Linked DNA regions of Homo sapiens: region 1 is linked to region 2. The links are contacts of gene promoters, found by promoter capture Hi-C in blood cells and fetal thymus (Javierre and others, 2016). All regions are on one chromosome and are shown on one strand. The core of a region is centred on a gene start or on the middle of the fragment in contact, and the rest is flanking DNA. Distances in the headings are between cores, read along the strand shown. Region 1 holds the start of KSR1 (kinase suppressor of ras 1). Region 2 holds the start of NOS2 (nitric oxide synthase 2).

Region 1 (6,982 bases), core at 1,999-4,498, 340 kb after region 2:
TCAGATTCTAGATAAGTCCGATGCAGTTGCACAGGCCAAGCCCTCCAGGTCAGATCCTTCTTCAAAAGCCAGGAATCCAGTGTTGCAAGCACAGTCTCTGGGGCCACGGCCTGGTGTGTGGGGAGCCCACAGAACAGGAAAGAACGCTGGAGTGGACACTGCCACTTGCCTGCCTGGCCCCAACACATGCTGCTGGCGGTGGACGGTCCCACCCAGCTTGCTGAGATTGTTTCCTGGCTTGTGTCACCCACCTGTATGAAATGAGAGGCAGCTGCAGAAGTACCTTTCCCTAAAATCCAGATTTACTGAACCCATAAAGTAGGGGGTTAAGTTTCCCTAGCAAGGGTCCAGTAGGGGTTAAGTTTCCCTAGTGGTGGCCTGTGCCATAAATGCTACTGGACCCTCACTAGGGGCAGCTGCCAGGCAGACTCTTTTCGTAGTATCAGCACGGACTGACAGACAAAATGCTGCAGGTGTGAGCAGTCTCGTTCCTATTTTACAGACAGGAGAGCTTGAGATTCAGAAGTCATGGGACTTGCCTAAGGTCACACAGACAGAACCCAGGCCCAGTATGAAAGCCATGGGGCTTCCTATTCACCACGCTGCTCCTATGGCAAAGATTCTTCTAATAAACTTAACCCCTATGTTATGGGTTCAGTAAATCTGGATTTTAGAACCATTCTTAAAGAGGGTTATTCTTAAACCAGGGTAGTATAAAAACAATCACAAACATTTGATTTCACCCAACCAAGTCTCCTTCTCTAACCTAGAGAATTTCGAGCTTCCAGAGCCCTCAGAGATCCACTCCAGCCTCCTTGTTTTGCAGGTGAGGAGGCTGAGGCCTCCGGGATGAAGTGACTCATCTAAACTAGCTGGTGGCAGCCCCATGGAACTCACTCCAGGGGTCTAAATTCCCATCCCCCAAAACAACCCAGGCCCTGCCTTTTCAGGAAGTGGAGTGAACCCGAATCCACATCACGGTGGGAAGAACAGGGAGCTGCAGATCCCCTGTGGGCCTTTGGATGGGTTCTCTGCTGCCAGGGATGATCGTCTAAACAAACACTCAGGAGGGAAGCCACTGAATAAACCAGCTCCAACACTTAAATAGCTGGATGCTCTGGGGTGTCATGAACGCCACACTGCCATCAAAATGAGGGACTCCGGAAGTTAGGGTAGGACAAAAGGCCATTCCAGAGAATGCACAGCAAGTGGTTCTCCTATATACACACTCTGGAAGCCAGGAGCACTTCAGAGCAACGTGGGGACAATCCCACAGAGGCCAACACAGAGAGCATTCTCCAAGCCCAGCAACACCGAAGTCCAACCACGCACACTCTGCCAGACAGCGACCCCTCCTCCCGGAACTGAGCCTCACAGGCCCCCTATTGTTGTCAGCTTAAAAACTGAACTTTGCTGAGCAAACACACTCAGCTGTGTTCAAAAAATCAGTTTCTCTCAATACTTGGAAAACTGCAGCATGCATGCAGAAAGGCCAGTTGTAGGGGGTTTTGTTTGTTTTTTAAGCAAAGCCTTGGTCAGTACAGCTTTAGCCAACTGTAATAAAAAATAATAATACCCAGCACTGACTGTATTCTTCCAATGTCCTGTGGTTTTATAGCTTTTAAGAAAATAAAACTGAGGGAGAGTCACCCCCGAGCATTTGGAATCAAACAAGGATTCGGCTTTGTGGCATGCCTGGAGGAAGGATTGGTCTTGTAATAATTACCGCGATCACAGAGGGCCTTATGACAGCTGGCAGAGGCAATTAGCAATAAGGGGCGGGGGGAGGGTTTGGGGGAGGAGAAATTGAGGATCTAATAAAACAAAACATCCCCAGACCTGCAGGAGGCCAGATGTGGCAGGGCAAGATGGTGAGAGGTTCCTTCTTCAAGACGGGGCAGCTATTAACTGGTCTGACGTTTCACCGCCCCGTCCCTGGCCAAAATCACATTCAGAATCCACTAGTTGCCCTCATTTGTGTATGGACAGGGTGCCCCAACAACCCTCGGGCTGGTTTTTCCAAATCCTTCAGATACTTCCCCAGCTATAATTTGAGAGAGGAAGGCCCGCATATCTTATTTCTTCTTTACACTCCAGACTGTCTCCATCAGAACCCTTTAAACAGTTTCATCTTCCCACCAAAGGCTTGCTTCCCAGCATAATCCTTCCTAAGCCTAAATCCAATCTTTGGGGGGAAGCAGGGGGAGTCAGCGGGTAATTATTAATACATTTTAAGCAGCGAGCCTCCGTGGCAACGTGAAAGGAAAGCACCAAACGCCTGAATAACAAAAATGCAGTTTCAGCAACACTTTTTGAAAAGGCGGCAGACAAGACCTGAGAGGAGAGGAAAGGAAGGGACAGGACGGCGTCTGGGGCGTGAGGGGAACAGGGGACGGCAGGCCTGCGATCACGCTTCAGGGGAACCTCCTCCGTCACCCTGGCCCACGGGTGCTCGGCTCAGTCACACGGGGAAAAGTCCAGCTTGTGACTCGGTGGGACAACGAGTCCTGCGGCCCCGCAAACTGGAAATGGGGTGGGGGCGGAGAAGGGGGGAAAGGGGATGTCCGCGCGCAGCCCACCCCGCACGGGCCCCTCGAGCCTCCATCCCAGTTCCCACGACGCACCCGCCCCACAAATCCTGCCCAAGATGAGGGCTGGTCCCGGGTCCTCCGGCTGCCGCATCAGCGAGTGCAGGAGGGAGGGGAAGCCTCCAAGGGGGGCGACGCGGGCTCAAGGATGCAACTCGGCCAGGAGTACTGGGGCCCGGAGGGAGGTGTCCGGGCCCGCTCCTCGAGCCCAGCCTGGTCCCCGACCCACTTACCTCCAGGGTCCGTATCTCCTGCTGGGTGAGGTCGTTGGACACAGCGCACTTGGTGCGCAGCCCGCGCAGGCTGCCGATGGAGATGTCGATGAGCTTCTGGAGCTGCCCGCACTGCTGCAGCGCCCGGCTGGCCGCGGCCCCTGCGCCTCCCTCCGCGGCCGCCGCATCCCCCCCGCCACCGCCCTCCTTCTTCTCTCCCATCGCCGCCGCGCGCAGCGCTGCTCTATCCATGCCTCGGCATCGGGGCCGCGGCGGCCGAGGCTGGGAGCCCGGGGCGCGGGCGCCTCGGCAAGGAACCCCCGAGCCAGGAGAGCTGGACCAGGAGCGCCCCTCGGCGCTGCCCGAGCCGGGACGCCGGTAGAGCCGGCCGCTGAGTCTGCCGCTTCCACCCTCCCAGCCGCGGCAGCAAAGCGAAAGCCGCGGCGACCCGACGGCTGCGGCTCCCGGAGCCTTTAAGCGGCGGCGGGGGCTGGGTCAGGGCGGCCGGGCATGCTGGGACTTGTAGTCCACGCCGCGCACCTGCCGCCGGCCTCCGCCCTCGGGGCCCCGGACCGCGCCCGCGCCGCCCTCCCTGCCCTCCTCTCCCCTCCCCTCCCGGCGGCCGCGGCGAGGCAGGCGGTGAGGGCCGGCCCCAACCGGGAGCCCCGGGTGGAGCTGCTCCGCGCCAGCTCCTCCCCCAGGCGCCGAGAGTCGGGGGAGCAGCGTCTCCCCGTCCGCCTCCGTCCCCCACCCGGCCTAGGAGCTTCCCGCGACCCCCGGATGGGGCGGCGCCCCCTGGACGCCCGGCGGGTGTGCGTCCCGCAGTTCCTCAGCTGCAGCCCAGCCCTGGAAGATGGGGACCAGGGAGGTTCCAGGATTTGTATGTGGGTTTAGGGGCTGCCATCTAGTGGGAAGGGGCTTACAGCACTTCTGTAGCTGGCTCACAAAGCGCTCTACTCTGGACTGCCTGCGCCAAAACGATTGCTCAGGCTTGGAGAAAGACGAAGAGCTTTCTTCTGAACCACATTTACCTGCCAAAATAAGTGTCCCATTCCCCCGCCATTCCCAGCCCACCAAGCCAGCCCAGACACGGGGGACAGCACACTGAATTGTCGGTGGCTTCGGAGCAAGTGGCCAGGATTCAAATTCTGACTCCACCACGGTCTAGGGTGAGACTTTGGGCACGTTCGATTTCCAGTGAATGCCCGACTCTCCTCATCAAATAACTCTTTAATAGGGTTCCTATGAAGAATCAGTTAATACATGTACAGCACCTAGATTGATTACTGGCACATGTGGTCGCTGGATAAATGTTAGCAATTCTTACTATCTAACCTCAGATCTGAATGTGGCCCTGGACCCAGGTAGTGGCCATGGAGCAGTACAGTACTGCCAAGGACTGGTAGTCCTTTGTCCTCTGTGCATTTCTGTGCCTCCTAACCCAGCAATCAAGCCTTGCCCATCTGTTCACCCTCCTCTCCCATTAGTTCACCCCATGCGTTCTATTATCTGGCAAAACTGAAAAACCAAGTCTCTGATCAAAGCTCCCACACCTTCATGCTTTCGACATCTGTCAACCAGAAAAAATGTCTCCCCTCTCAATTTTCTCTTGTAAGCTGCTTGATTGCAGAAGCCACTAGCTATTGTACCCTCTTTATAGTGCCAGATACAGTGCATGGCACACAAGAAAGGCTCCAGCGTGCCTCAGGAGCTCTTTCAGCAGGTCCTATGGGATGTTTCTTTTACCTCTCAGGCCAGCCGAGGGTGTGTGTGTGTGTGTAGATAGACAGTTGTTTTTTTGGTTTTGTTTTTGTGTTTGAGGATGAGAATTGGACAGGAGGTGGGATCCAAACCTTGTAGACACTAAAACAATCAATAATGGATGGCAGTTTGTATTACACCTTCCTTTAATGTTTATATTACACCAGCCTTCGAAATAAATTAAGGGCTGGGCACCGTGGCTCATGCCTGTAATGCCAGCACTTTTGAGAGGCCAAGGGGGAAGGATCACTTAAAGCCAGGAGTTCGAGACCAGCCTGGGCAATGTGACAAGACCCTGTCTCTAAAAAAAATAATAAATTTTTAAAAATCAGGTCTAGGAAGCAAAACTATAACTTTAAAACTTGTTTTTGCAAATTAACCCCTCCTCGAGATTTTCCAAATGCAAGGAGGTTCCTCCCTAACCCCTGGCCTTTCCCATTGAGAGTCATTGATCCAGTCCTCACTCAACTTATAAAAAGACCGCCTGCACGATATTATGAATTTCTCAACCTGTTACCTTAACCCCATCCGACTCCTTGCAAAGTAGTAACTATTATGAAAGGGAAACTAGTTGTGGTTCTCAAACTTGAACATGCATCAGAATCACTTGGAGGGCTTGTTAATTCCCAGAACCATGGAGCTCACCTCTATAGTTTCTAATTTTGTAGATCAGAGGACAGGGCAGGAGAATCTGCATTTCTATCAGGTTCTCAGGTGGTACTGATGTGGTTAGTCTGAGCCCAGTCGCAAGTCTATACTTTGAGAAGCCTAGGCACAGAGGAAGGTCAGTGGGCAGAGAACTATCTCAAGGGACTATCCACAACCCAACCTGGCTGGTTCAGAGCCTCTGTCCAGCAGCCAGAGCTGCCAGGCTTGAACGACTCACTCATTCTAACACAATTCACAAAAGATTTTTTTTTTTTTGAAACAGGGTCTTGCTCTGTCACTCAGGCTGGAGTACAGTAGCATGATCATGGCTCAGTGCAGCCTCGACCTCCCAGACTCAGGCGATCCTCCCACCCCAGCTTCCCAAGTAGCTGGGACTATAGGAGTGTGCCACCATGCCCGGCTAACGTTAACTTTTTTTTTTTTTTCCTTTTTTTTAGAAATGGAGTCTCTCTACGTTGCCCAGGCTGCTGGTCTCAAACTCTCGGGCTCAAGCAATCCTTCCCCTTCAGCCTCCTGAAGTGCTGGGATTATAGGCGTGAACTACCATGCCTGGCTCACAAGAAATGTTCTGGTAAGTGCCTATTTATGCACTTACATCAAACTTGTTATTGCCACAGGGACCTGGTCATCACATTCTCCCTCTAGGGCCACTTTATGTGGGAAGCCACATCCTGAGAAGAGCCACTGCCAGCTTGTGGCATTCATGCCCACCCATGTCACCACAGGGGTGATGTCAGAGCCTGAGACTGGACAAATGCCAGCTCCCTGGTTACTCTCCCGCCAGGTTCCATGCAGCGAGTCTGTCCTCTGTGGATACAGTCTTCCCTCTGATTATCCAGAGCATTCAGCAGGCCACAGTTTTCCTTCCTCACAGATGGCCTCCAGCCTTCTTGCCTGGATTTGAGTCATCTGTCAGCCACAAGTTTACAGAACTGCCCCTCAGAGGTGGAGAAACTTTTTTGTTTTTGTTTTTTGTTTTTAAGAGACAGGGATTTGCTCTGTTGCCCAGGTTGGAGTGCAGTGGTGCGAGAAAGCTCACTGCAGCCTCAAAAGTCCTGGGCTCAAGCCATCCTCCTGCCTCAGCCTCCTGAGTAGCTGGGACTACAGGTGCCTGCCACCGCATCTGACTAATTTTTAAATTTTTTGTAGGGACAGGGTCTTGCTGTGTCATGTAGACTGGTCTCAAACTCCTGTTCTTGGCCTCACTCTCCCAAAAGTGCTAGGATTACAGGCATGAGCCATGGCACCTGGCCGAAATAAGGATTTTTAAATAATCCCTTCATTCATCCTTTTAACATTCAGTAAGCATTCATGAAGTGCCACTTACATGGCAGGCCCTGTTCTGGGCTCTGGAAAAGGGTAGTGAACAAAATGAAGATTCTTACCCTTAGGGAATTTATGCTGTGGTGAGAGGAAACAGACAAGCAGATAAATGCACAGTGTGTCAGTGGTAACAGGTGGTATGGCACTGCAGGGAAGGGGACAGGGAATATGGCCTTTACAACTTCGAATAGAGCTGTTTTAGAGAGTAGGGTAGTCAGCTCTGTCTCTGAATCGCTGTATGACCTTTGACGAGTCTTATATGACCTCGGGCAAATCTCCTAATCTGGTAGCACAGCTTCTTATTTGCAAGATGGTGATAATGTTTTATGAGGATGAACAGATTATATAACACAAAGTAATGGTCATAAAATAAGGGTTCGGCATATTTATTTATTTGATAAATATTTACTGTATGTCTACTGAAACTGT
Region 2 (7,656 bases), core at 3,889-6,388:
GACCTCAGCTTCGGAGCTGCTGGAATTTGTGTGACTCACGCCCTCCAGTGGTCACTTGACAAATGACATAGGGCTCACGGTCTGGGGACTTGAGCTTGTTAGGGCCTCAGAACCGGGAGGGTCCCAGGAATGCCTCTTCTCAATGCCTTCCTTTGACAGCTGAGTGGAGTGAAGGCCCCACAGGACACGTGACTCGCCACGGGACATGCACACACACAAATAGAGAGTAAGAGCCACGCCCCTGTGTTTCCTTCACGTCCCACCTTTATCATTTGTGTCACATCTGCATGCACCTATACTGTTATTTGCTTAAACATTTTACCTTAAACTGGCTCTCTTTAAACCTTAAATATATTTCTAAAATAAAATTTTTATCACTTTCTGTGAGGCGGGGCACACAGTAGGAACTCCGTCTCCTCCTTCCATGGCCTTGCACAGAGCTGGCACCAGACACTGACATGGAGGGGAGAACATTCAACCCCAGGTAATCCTCAGCTCCTACCTTGATCTCAGTTTCCCACTCTCTCATTGTCACCTCTCCTTGCCCCTGGGTGTACTCACCTGTAGCAAAATGGGTAAGCACACAGTGGGCGCACAAGTGGGGTCCAGTCAAGGTCTCAGACCTGGGTCAGTCCTCAGCTTTGCCACTTACAAACTGAGTGACATTGAGCTGGTCGCTCAAACTTTCTGTGTCTCGGTTTCCTTATTGGTGAATTGGGGATAGTATTATAATAGTACCTGCCACACAACGTTGTTGGAGGATTAACTGAGATAATAAATGGAAAGCCCAGGGCCTGGCTGTATTTATGGAGCAAGCACCAGAGCAAGTGCAAGCTGGGACTCCAGGGTTGTAGCCCTGCCACCACCTGACTGTGTGGTCTTGGACAAGTCATTTGGCTTTGCTTAGCCTCAATTTCCCCATCTATAAAATGGGGCTAGTGATCATTCCCACCCCATAGGACTGTTGTGTGGATTAAATGCTTGGTATGTTTAAGTGCCTTGCTCAGTAAACGTTAGCTCTGATCAATTGTTTTTGTAGAAAAGCCTTCAAAGTTGCTAACTTCCGAGGGCTAACTGGATCTGAACCATCTTCACAGCCTGGCATAGAAACAGATCAAATCAATCCAGTGGAAAATCAATTCCAGGATAATGAGCCCAAGACATTCCCGTGCTGATTGCTGTCAGCATGGTGCCTAGGACAGCCTGGGAAGGCAGGGAGGAGGGCATTTCTCCACAGCAGCCTCGGAACCTCTATCGCCACCCTCCGGGGGGCCCACCTGTCCCCCGCCTGCCCTTCAAGGTGCTCTTTGATTTCTCCCCAGCAGAATTCACCTGCTGCATCCATCATCAGAAGAGGCCAGGAATGCGGCCTGCTGGGTGGGCAGGGCCAAGAAGAAGGCAGCCGTGCAGGCCCAGGAAGCCGTAGGAGACTTGCCAACCTCCAGGAGGGGGCCAGCCCTGGACCCTGCAGACAGGCGCTCTGGGGAGGGTACCAGAAGCTCACTGTTTGTCCCGGCTTGAAGGCTGTTTGCTGTGTGACCTTGGTGAGTCTCCTAACCTCTGTGTATCATCACAATCATTATCACTATTTTTACTCTCCTCCTCTTCCTATTTGCCGGTTAAGAGAGGATTGGGATAGTGGTCATGGTTATACAACATTGTGAATATTCTAAAAACCATTGCATTTTACACTTTAAAATAGTTAATTGGTAATTTTATGTTATGTGAAATTTATTCCAATTAAAAATTAAAAATACATACATGAATTTAATGTTACAAAGGGAGAGAGAGGACCGGGAATTTAAAAGCAGGTGTTTGTGGTGGGACGGGGACCTGTCTGAGGAAGGATACTTCAGAAGGCAAGTCCTGGCATCCACTTGCTCTTTGTCAAAAGGGAAATTGTTACTCTCTGACTCCCAGCAAGGATAATAAATTCTTACTTGGCTGACTTTTTGCTCAATGGCTCAAAGCATTTTCTTGTATCTCGTTTATTTACTTTTATTTTTATCACCTTTTGTCACGAGAAAAGTCAGGCCCAGAGAGAAGTGGCTTTTCCAAGATCACATGGTAGGTCAGCAGTGAAGCTGTGCCTCGAACCTGGGACCTTTCAGGCTAAAGGAAACCAGAACATGCCACGCCCAGATATGCCGATATGGCATCCTGATTATCTCCAGCTGAAGGCATTTGAGAAAGAGCAGCTAGAGAGAGGGCTATCTGAACTGCCCTGTCCTGCCTGCAGCAAGCCATAAACATTCCTTGGAGAAAGATGCTTTCCCAGCATCAAGATGAGAAGATAACTTTTATCAGCTCAGAGATGGCACCAGAGCCATCTACAAATACAAACAAACCTTGCTATCCTACTCCTTAGCTCACTTCCACATGTTTACCTTCTCACAGCTTGCCACCCCTGGAAGCCTACAACTGCATTCGTCTTGTCACCTTTCTCTTCTTTCTTTCTTTCTCTCTTTCCTTTCCTTTCTTTTCCTTTCCTTTCCTTTCCTTTCCTTTCCTTTCCTTTCCTTTCCTTTCCTTTCCTTTCCTTTCCTCCTTTCCCTCTTTTTTTTCCTTTTTTTTCTGAGACAGGCTAGGGTGCAGTGGCGCGACCATAGCTCTCTGCAGCCTCTAACTCCCAGACTCAATTGATCCTCCCACCTGATCCTCCTGAGTAGCTAGGACTACAGTAGCTGGGCATGCCACCATACCCAGCTAATTTATTTTCAATTTTTCTGTAGAGATTGGATCTCACTATGTTGCCCAGGCTGGTCTCGAACTCCTGGCCTCAAGCAATCTGCCCACCTCAGCCTCCCAAATTGCTGGGATTCCAGGCATGAACCACCGTGCCCAGCCATCTTGTCACTTTCTAAAATGCATTGCTCTTCATGGCAGATGCTCCATAAGCCAGAGTTCTAAGCCGCAGCATTGAGTTACTTTCACTGAGGCTTCTCCTGCGTGGTGTGCATCACAGACATTAACAAACTTGCTTTTTTTTCTCTATTATTAATCTGTCTTTTGTTACAGTGTCTTTCCCAACAAATAACTTAAGATGATTGAGGAGAAATTATATTTCCTTCCCAGCTGGCTAATTCCAAATGTGTCCTCAAGCCTGGTGCTTGGACTCAAACCCTGCCACAGGTCAAGAATGCCACACCAAGCAGACGCTGTGTTAGAGGGGCACCTGAGGTGACATGTTTGACAGATCACATAACTGAATAACTGCATTTTCTGAAGGAAAATCAACGAAGTGCTTTGAGGCCAAGTAGATGGGATTCTTGAGGATTCCATGAATAGCAAATAGTAGTATCCCCCTCAGAGGCTCTTGGGTGGGGGCATTAAATGTGTTAATACATGTGTTTGCTGCAGGTATAGCCAGAATATGTGAAAGCAGCTACAGGGAATAGAGTGTAGCAAACTCCTAATCATCCCTCAAAACCCTGCCCTGGTGTCCTCTCCCTTGTAAACTTTCCTTGAACAAGGCAGAACCAGCTACATCAGCACCATACCATCCCTCCATCACTACAGATATCACTCTGTACTATAATTATCCATTTATTTTTCTAGGCCTTGCACTCCCTAAGGCCAGGATTCTGACTCTTTCCCTGAGTGCTGTTTACCTGAACTGAACCGGCATGAACCACCACGCCCGGCCATCTTGTCACTTTCTAAAATGCATTGCTCTTCGTGGCAGATGCTCCATAAGCCAGAGCTCTAAGCCGCAGCATTGAGCCGCAGCATTGAGCTGAAGCCTGAAGGGAAGATGGCTTTGATATGTTAAAACTCATTCCAGTTTACTCCTATTTTTCATTCATTCATCCACACATTCACTCAACAAAGATCCTTGAGCTCTGATATCCATGTCTTTTTTGTGGCTCTTAGTTTATCTTTGACAAAGTTAATATATTATGCTGAATTTAACTTGGGAAAGACAAGAAGGAAATGAGTGGACAGTGGTAGCAAAGTGTTGGGACGGTGAGATCAAGGGTGACTTTTTTTCCCTTTGCTTCTCAACTTCTCCCTAATGTAGTTGTTATTTTACTTTTATGATGGAAAAATGCATATGTATGGGAATACTGTATTTCAGGCATTATAAGGAATGAAATTATAGGCCGGGCATGGTGGCTAACCCTTGTAATCCTAGCACTTTGAGAGGCTGAAGTGGGCAGATCACTTGAGCTTCAGAGTTCGAGACCAGCATGGACAACATGGTGAAACCCAGTCTCTACCAAAAACACAAAAATATTAGCTGGGTGTGGTGGTGCATGCCTGTAGTCCCAGCTACTCAGGAGGCTGAGGTGGGAGGATCGCTTGAGCCTGGGAGGCAGAAGTTGCAATGAGCAGAGATCGTGCCACTCCGCTCCAGTCTTGGTGACAGAATGAGACTCCATCTCAAAAATAAATAAATAAATAAAATAAATGAAATGAAATTATAAGAAATTACCACTTTTTCATGTAAGAAGTGATCATTTCCATTATAAGGGAAGGAATTTAATCCTACCTGCCATTCCACCAAAGCTTACCTAGTGCTAAAGGATGAGGTGTTAGTAAGACCAACATCTCAGAGGCCTCTCTGTGCCAATAGCCTTCCTTCCTTTCCCTTCCAAAAACCTCAAGTGACTAGTTCAGAGGCCTGTCTGGAATAATGGCATCATCTAATATCACTGGCCTTCTGGAACCTGGGCATTTTCCAGTGTGTTCCATACTGTCAATATTCCCCCAGCTTCCTGGACTCCTGTCACAAGCTGGAAAAGTGAGAGGATGGACAGGGATTAACCAGAGAGCTCCCTGCTGAGGAAAAAATCTCCCAGATGCTGAAAGTGAGGCCATGTGGCTTGGCCAAATAAAACCTGGCTCCGTGGTGCCTCTATCTTAGCAGCCACCCTGCTGATGAACTGCCACCTTGGACTTGGGACCAGAAAGAGGTGGGTTGGGTGAAGAGGCACCACACAGAGTGATGTAACAGCAAGATCAGGTCACCCACAGGCCCTGGCAGTCACAGTCATAAATTAGCTAACTGTACACAAGCTGGGGACACTCCCTTTGGAAACCAAAAAAAAAAAAAAAAAAAAGAGACCTTTATGCAAAAACAACTCTCTGGATGGCATGGGGTGAGTATAAATACTTCTTGGCTGCCAGTGTGTTCATAACTTTGTAGCGAGTCGAAAACTGAGGCTCCGGCCGCAGAGAACTCAGCCTCATTCCTGCTTTAAAATCTCTCGGCCACCTTTGATGAGGGGACTGGGCAGTTCTAGACAGTCCCGAAGTTCTCAAGGCACAGGTCTCTTCCTGGTTTGACTGTCCTTACCCCGGGGAGGCAGTGCAGCCAGCTGCAAGGTGAGTTGCCTTCATTTCTGGGGAAGCGGCTGTTTTGAGAGGGTTTTGTTTCTTCCTCTTTGAGAAGGCTCAGAAAATTGTGGGAATTTTCTGCCTACAGAGAGAAGGTGTTGGAAAGTCTAGGTAAAAAAATGCCGACATGAGGTTTGGTCATTTGAACATGGCATCTTGGTCAGATTTCTTTTCTGCAAATATTAGCTGTGGTTGTTACATGACAAGGAAAAACTTTCTGAAAAGTTCAAAATGGGAGTTTGTATCTGCTAAGAATTTTTTTTAACAGAGATTATCTTATCAGTCCTTATAACATGTAACCTCCCCACAAATCCTGGTAAGATGGATATATTAAACCCATTTTATGGATGAATAAATGAGTTTCAGTTAAATAACTTGATCCAGGACACATAACTGGTAGAGCTAGGATTCCAGGATTTGAACCCAGGTCTATGGGGCTATAAGTTCTTTTCTTTCTTTCCCTCTTTCCTTCCTTTCCTTCCTGTCCTTTCCTCCCTTCCCCTCCCTTCCCTTCCCTTTCTTTCTTTTTTTTTTTTGGAAACAGCCTTGACTGCCCAGCCTCAAGCAATCCTTCTGCCTCAGCCTCCCGAGTAGCTGGGACTACAGGCACAAGACACCATGCCTGCCTGGCTAATTTTTCAATTTTTTGTAGTCAAGGTCTCCCTATGTTGCCCAGGCTGAACTCGAACTCTTGGACTCAAGCGATCCTCCTGCCTCGGTCTCCCGAAATGCTGGGATTACAGGCGTGAGCCACTGCACTTGGCCTAAAATTCTTACATGGACTATATTCACTACACTGTCTTCTAAAGACAGAGTTTTTGCCTCTTTGATCTTCCTCTTGTCTGTTTCAAAGGAGATGATCTCAGATTTCGAGGGATGAGTGCATTTTTCACAAATATTTCCTCCCCACATAATAAAAGAGGAGCAAGTAATAATGCTGAGTTAGAACAACAACTGCAAAATCTTTAAAAGAAAGGTAGCTACAGCTTGAGTGCTTTCCCCAGTAATAGACCTAAAACTACAGTTGATAATGAGAGCTGCTGGGAAGTGTCTTTCAGGGTCAGGCAAAGGCACCCCTGTTTCAACGACCTCCGGGCTCTTCCTCACCCTGCCTGTGGCCAGTGATGAAGCCTGGCTGGGTCTGGTGGGCCAGCAGGTCCCGCTAAGGAGGCTCATGGTGCATACAGTTTGTCCTTGTTAAGTGGCGATGGGGATGGGGGGGTTCATTGTTTTTCCTTAAGATTATTAGGTGGCTTTACAGAATTGAAGTCTGTGTCCGAAGGCTCCCCATTCCAACCCCGAAATAGAGACAGAGGTTGCAAAGCATTGATGAAGGGGCTCATGCTGGCGTTCATATCGATTCCCCAGTGAGCCAACCCCACTGAGAAGCCCTGTTCTGTAAACTCTTCTTCAACCTTCCCTCACCTCTGCTTCCCTTCTTCAGCCCCACAGTGAAGAACATCTGAGCTCAAATCCAGATAAGTGACATAAGTGACCTGCTTTGTAAAGCCATAGAGATGGCCTGTCCTTGGAAATTTCTGTTCAAGACCAAATTCCACCAGTATGCAATGAATGGGGAAAAAGACATCAACAACAATGTGGAGAAAGCCCCCTGTGCCACCTCCAGGTGAGTTTTCCCTGGGGGAACCTCCTGCTTGTCTCCTTGGGCACCCATGCCCTGTCGGCACCGATGACTCAGAATTCCTCTCTCTGCTCCTCCTCTCTCACCTGAGGTCTGATCTCCTCATTGCTTCTTGAAAGTCCCTGTTGGAATTCAATGCAGCCGCTGATTATTGGGCACCTCGCTGTGCCTGACGGTATGTGAAGAAGGAAGGGACATGGTGCGGGGCTGGCCCTGAAGAAGCTTGGAATCTTTGGGGAAGAATATGGGAAGGAGCTTGGCCTGAGAATGGGAGGCAGTAGAGCCTCGTGGTGGGCACCATGGCGGAGGGGTGGGGGTGGAGGGTCAGCATCCTGGCCTGCGTCCATTCCAATTCACCGCTTGCTAGATGCTTTGAATATCATCCTGGTGAAGGGCATCAGGATGTTAGACAAACTAGTTCCAAGCCCTGTGCTGGCCGCACTAGTTGCCGGGTGCTGCCTCTAGCCAGCTGTGTGACGCAGGGTAAGTTAACCTCTCTGAAACTTAGTGCTCACCTGTGGTATGAGGAACCCAAGGGGGCCCTCACCATAGTGTGCTGAGGATGAAATGAGATCTACAGCACTCAGCACTGTGCCCACACAGAACAGACACTTAGTCCACATCAGGGTTCATCACCATCTACTGAGTACCTGCCCTTGCCAGAGCTACACAGG

What was found. The method cuts DNA at HindIII sites, captures the fragments that hold promoters and counts their contacts. A CHiCAGO score of 5 or more calls a contact.
Region 1: the fragment with the promoter of KSR1 here is called in contact with the fragment with the promoter of NOS2 in region 2 in 1 of 17 cell types (monocytes); the score reaches 5.3 in monocytes.

Annotation. Positions count from the first base shown.
Region 1 is chr17:27,452,714-27,459,695 of GRCh38, reverse strand. KSR1 (kinase suppressor of ras 1) reads right to left here and starts at 3,248. Exons shown (of 21, transcript NM_001394583.1): 1 at 2,822-3,248. The coding sequence starts at 3,052. RefSeq lists silencers at 2,389-2,438, 2,959-3,718 and an enhancer at 3,082-3,583. The HindIII fragment of the contact is 16,082 bases long and covers 1-6,982 here.
Region 2 is chr17:27,798,011-27,805,666 of GRCh38, reverse strand. NOS2 (nitric oxide synthase 2) reads left to right here and starts at 5,138. Exons shown (of 27, transcript NM_000625.4): 1 at 5,138-5,328; 2 at 6,785-6,967. The coding sequence starts at 6,858. RefSeq lists enhancers at 1-182, 1-204, 4,936-4,964, cis regulatory regions at 1,641-1,780, 2,439-2,574, 4,601-4,623 and promoters at 1-5,174, 4,933-5,225, 4,108-5,225, 1-5,305. The HindIII fragment of the contact is 2,695 bases long and covers 4,512-7,206 here.